Linked DNA regions of Homo sapiens: region 2 is linked to region 1. The links are contacts of gene promoters, found by promoter capture Hi-C in blood cells and fetal thymus (Javierre and others, 2016). All regions are on one chromosome and are shown on one strand. The core of a region is centred on a gene start or on the middle of the fragment in contact, and the rest is flanking DNA. Distances in the headings are between cores, read along the strand shown.

Region 1 (2,700 bases), core at 118-2,617:
GAACACATAACATCTGGAACTTCAAAGTTGTATGACCATGGCAGTGGATATACATAACATATATGGCCTTATCATTTTCCTCTCTCAAATCCTTCGATGGCTTTTTAAAGACAAAGCCTCATCCTTAATCTTGCCTACAAAGGCTGCATAAAAAACCTGTAGCTAGGTCCCATGATGCACGCCTGTAGTTCCCATTACTCAGCCGGCTGCAGCAGGAGAATCGCTTGAGCCCAGGAGTTCAACGCAGACCTGGGCAACATAGCTAAACCCTATCATTATTTAGAACAAACAAACAAAAACAACAACAAAAACCACTTGCCTCCATCTACTTACAACCTCATCTCACAGTACTCTCCACTTTACTTTCTGAACTTTAGCCAGACTTAGGCCTTCTTTCCAGTTCCGTTTTTGCACAAGCAGATCTGCACGTAATGTTGTTTTAAATATCCTACTACCCCAAACTAGTTCGCTCTTATCTTTTAGCTGTCAGTCCAAAGATTCCCTAAGATGTCTCCATCCTGTGGCAGCAGACTATAAGGCCGTTTTATTACATTATATTTGAACAATACAGAATAGTGTAATGAGCATGGATTCTAGACTCATAAATATGTCCTTAGGCATATTTATTTAAGCCCTTCATGTCTCGGTTTCTTCACCTGTAAATTGTACTTGTAAGGTTATTGAAAAGATTAAAAGAGATAAAGGATGTAAGCACTTAGAACTGTGTTGATAACGCAATTCAAAGGGCCCAACATATGTCGGTCATGATCACATTTACTTAATTTGTAGTCACTATCGTCCCCTCTCTCCCCTCTAGCCTCCGGAGTACCCCTGCTCCTCTAGCCCAGAGGCCACACCGGCCTGGTCCTTTTTTGTATTCCTAGCCTCAGCACAGGGTTCGGAACATACCAGGCCTTCAATATTATGTTTTTTAAAAATGACAAAAGCCTTGTGTCCCAATTTTGCTTTATTAGCCGAACGATCTCAAGCAAATCACTCAAACCACCTACGCCTCGTTTACCCTTCTGTGAAATGTAATAGCTACCTCAGAGAGGTTTTGTGTTAAATAAGGCGATGTACCTACAAAAGCACACTGCACATCTTAAAATGCCGTACAAACCGTAGATGTTTATTAATAAACCGGAGTCCGTGTCTTCCCTCCCCTCAGGCACGTCTCGTCCCGACCCCTCCCTCCTCCCAGCCCACACCCTTACTGCGCCCTTGGCCCTGGGTCCCTTGGGATTGCAAGCGTGGGAGCCTCGGCCCCGCGCAGCTCCCTCCGGCGTCCCGCGCCCTCCTTCCTTCCTCGCCAGGACGGACGCACTTCCGGCGGATGTGGGGGCCAGCCCTCGGAAACGGAAGTGAGCGGCGGGGTCGACTGACGGTAACGGGGCAGAGAGGCTGTTCGCAGAGCTGCGGAAGATGGTGAGTGGGTACCCGGGCGGCTGGAGTTCCACGCGGGCTCGGGACCGTGGCTCGGCAGAAACAGGCAGTCGCCTCCCAACCCGTCCCCGGTGGCGGCGGCGGCGGCAGCGTGGGGCTGAGGCCGGCCTCAGGCGCCATAATCTGTCGAGTCACGGGGTTTGGGTGGGTCGTGACTGTCGCCGGGGCCCGGCACTAGTCCCACTAGCAGTGCTTCGGCTTCATCCTGCTCCTCTTAGCTCGGTTTGCGCCCTTCCATCCCTTAGACCCCAGCAGGCCCAGACCTCCTCCCCTTACTTGGCGCAGAAGTGGAAAAGGCAGCCGTGAAAGTGCAACGTTCTGTGGGGTGGCGCTGGCGACCCTTTCCTTGACGGGTAACCTCTGGGAGCCCAGAGCTCTCAGACTCCTCATCTCCCCCAGCCCCCGCCCTTGTAACTGCCTAGTAAACAGCCCACAACTATAGGTCGCATTTGTGTAACGCAGCTTTGCTCTACAAACTTTTTTGAGAGCTTGTAGTGTGCTAGATGTTAGAGGGGAAAAAATCAGACAGTTGCTATTCCCTGTTTGCCAGTATTGTTAGTATATCTCCTCCCTCCTTCTCCTCCCCACCACTTTCTCTTTCTTTTTAACTTAGAAGTTGTGGTATTTGAGAAGAACACTGAGTCACCATTGCCACAGACTCTGATATCGGTACTGCTGGTAGGCCATCCATCCAAATCTAGAAAGTTTCTATTGGTAAATACTGCTAATCGTTATCTAAAAAGTTTTTTAGGCACTCTCAAATGTAACTAGTAGTTAGGTTTTCGTAGATTTGCCTTTCTCGGCTCCTTCCTTTATTAGAAACAGCAAGTACTAATCTTGATATTTTACAGAAGGAAATTGGGAAAAATGACAATAACAGAATCCAGAAGTCAGAATTCACCTTTTCTTTGTGCGTTGAAACCTTGTTACTTTACAATAAAGCAGTCCAGAAGGAGGAGAATGTTCATATAGGGAAGTAATAGAAGATACATTTGGAAAGCAACAATCACACATCTCTGCTGAAGGTCCCCAACTTCTGGTGGTTCAACAATCTTCTGACTTTATGATGGTGTGAAATCCATACACAGTCAGTAGAGGCCATATTTGAGTACCAATACAGCCATTCTGTTTTTCACTTTCAGTACAGTATTCAATAAATTACATGAGATACCCAGTACTTTTTAATAAAGTAGGCTTTGTATTAGATGATTTTGGCCGACTGTAGGCTAGTGTAAGTGTTCTGAGCACATTTAAGGT
Region 2 (2,700 bases), core at 122-2,621, 520 kb before region 1:
ACCATAATTTAGTGTTTTTAATTTCTATGTTTGTGGGTTTTGATTGAATCATTTGACAACAAAAGAAACAAAAGATTTAATATAGAAGTACAAATTTCTGGTTTCCCTTTAAGGATGTCTCTTACCTGTGTTGGAATTAGAGCTGTTGATAGAGCATAATTCTCTCCATTTTGACTCATTCCCTAACTGGATGACTTTTATATCTAGGCATTTGAGGTTTTGACTCTAACTTTAGCACTTCACATTTGCAGAATTGTTTTTGTTTTGTTGGTGTTTCAGATAGTGTTAAAACCTTGGAGGTGGGTGCATGAGAAAACTTTATCTTTATTTTGCAGCCATTGGAAAACTGAAGCACAAAGGCTTTTTCTTAATACACTTAGTTGCAATGATGTTTCAACCTTATAAGGAAACTGCAATTTGATTTTTTGTTTTTGTTTTTGTTTTTGTTTTTTTTGAGGAGGGGGTTGGGAGTTCTTGCTGTGTTGTCTAGGTTGGACTCCAACTCCTGGGCTCAAGTGATCCTAGCACCTCAGCCTCCTGAGTAGCTGGGACTACAGGTATGCCGTACCATGTAGCTTACGTAACATTTCGTATTTCTGTTAGTCTTGGGATTTTTCTAAGGCTTAAGAGTGATTTGATTTGTATTCAACTGCATTATCGATTCTTGACATTTAATGATGTAATTCTAATATTTTCAACTGGCTAGATTTTCAAAATGGCTTTAATCTTCAAAGTGTACAATTTTTAACAGGTAAAATATGCCAATATTTGTATTTTATGTACATTATTTGAAACCCAGTAGTTTTAATTTACCAAAATACACTTTTCAATTCTCCTAATGTAGTTACTAGTGAATAAGACATGTTTCAGATAGAATCCTGGCTCTTTGACTAGCTTTGTGACTGAACGAATTTTTAACCTTTAAGCCTCAGTTTTTCTCATCTGGAAAATGGAGATGTTATGAAAATTGCATGGCATTGCCTGCACATATTGAGGTTTCAGTCTTAGTTATTGCTATTATTAAATATTAATAATCTATAGTTAACCTCTGTATTTCCTTCTTCAAATTTTTGAGGGCATACATTGAAGACTAGTAAAATAGCTACAGATTATTGAATTGTGATTGTCCAAATGGAGGAGAGCAGTGCCATGGATAACTTGAAGTTCAAATGTTAGCTTTGGAATATGTAATGTGTAGCGTGTGGCAAAGCTGTTTTTGTTTAAGCCAAGACTAGCCTTTTCATCCCACAAACCTATACTAAGTGACAGAGAAGTGAGTACTGGCGATTTGCTGTTAGGATAGCTGGCATAAGTTTAAACATTTTTATTGGAATAATATACTTAGTATATCATGAAGGCTTTATAATACTGTTCATTTCACTCATTTAATATCCTGCTTCCAAGGTGGTAAGCTCTGATTAAGGTGATAGGAACAACAACAGCAACAAAAAAACATAATTCAGCCCTAATGGAGTTTACATTCTAGTGGGGCTATAAATATCTATAAGGTAATACTTGGTTTCGATAAGTTTTTTTGTTTTTTTTTTTTTTTTTTTTTTTGATATGGAGTCTCGCTCTGTCTCCCAGGCTGGAGTGCAGTGGCGCAGTCTCGGCTCACTGCGAGCTCCGCCTCCTGGGTTCACGCCATTCCTGCCTCAGCCTCCTGAGTAGCTGGGACTACAGGCGCCCGCCACCACGCCCAGATAATTTTTTTGTATTTTTAGTAGAGACGGGGTTTCACCGTGTTAGCCAGGATGGTCTCAATCTCCTGACCTCATGATCCACCTGCCTCGGCCTCCCAAAGTGCTGGGATTACAGGCGTGAGCCACTGGGCCCGGCCGGTTTCGATAAGTTTTATGAGGAAAACTCGAGGGATAACGTAACTCCAGGTGAGATTGAGTTAACAAATAAAGCACTTTTTCCTGTAAAAGTGCATTTGATGAGATCGGGCGTGTTCAGAGTGGTATGATCATAGACTGAAAGTGCATTTGAAATGACCCTTTAAGAAGATAAATGATTATCAAAAGCAAACCAAAACATCATCTTTTTTTTTTTTTTTTTTTTTCCTCAGAGCCTCACTCTGTAGCCCAGGATGGAGTGCACTGGCGCCATCTTGGCTCACTGCAACCTCTGCTGCCCAGGTTCAAGCGGTTCTCCTGCCTCAGCTCCCAAGTAGCTGGGATTACAGGAGCCTGCCACCGCGACTGGCTAATTCTCGTATTTTTAGTAGAGATGGGGTTTCACCATCTTGGCCAGGCTGGTCTTGAACTCCTGACCTCGTGATCCACCTGCCTCAGCCTCCGAAAGCGCTGGGACTACAGGCGTGAGCCACCGCGCCTGGCCCAATATCATCCTTTTATATGCCATTTTGAGGAATTTTTCCCCCAATTTTAAATGAACTTTTTATTTTGAGATAATTATAGAATCACCCGAAATTGTAAGATACAATACGGATATCTCATGTACTCTTCTTTTATAAAGGATAGTAACATCTTTTGTAGCTGTAGTACAGTATCATGGCCAGTATTGATTGCTGTAGTCTACTTGTTTACATTTCCACGGTCTTATTTGCACTTGCGTGTGTGTGTGTATGTGTGTACATATTACAGATCGTGCCTAACTTAATGGTTTGGCTTTCAATTTTTTGACTTTTTTTTGACAATTTTTTGAGACAGAGTCTCACTCTATCACCCATGCTGG

Evidence for each region. Contacts are between HindIII fragments. The CHiCAGO score rates a contact against its expected background, and 5 or more counts as called.
Region 2: a fragment that was not itself captured here is called in contact with the fragment with the promoter of POMP in region 1 in 6 of 17 cell types (naive CD8 T cells, fetal thymus, total CD4 T cells and 3 more); the score reaches 7.6 in naive CD8 T cells.

The regions. Positions count from the first base shown.
Region 1 is chr13:28,657,763-28,660,462 of GRCh38, forward strand. POMP (proteasome maturation protein) reads left to right here and starts at 1,368. Exons shown (of 6, transcript NM_015932.6): 1 at 1,368-1,425. The coding sequence starts at 1,423. RefSeq lists an enhancer at 861-1,020 and a silencer at 1,241-1,300. The HindIII fragment of the contact is 5,788 bases long and covers 1-2,700 here.
Region 2 is chr13:28,142,675-28,145,374 of GRCh38, forward strand. All of the region lies in intron 1 of PAN3 (poly(A) specific ribonuclease subunit PAN3), which reads left to right. Among named protein-coding and RNA genes, the nearest start is that of PAN3-AS1, 4.9 kb to the left of the region's middle. RefSeq lists an enhancer at 1,978-2,272. The HindIII fragment of the contact is 7,623 bases long and covers 1-2,700 here.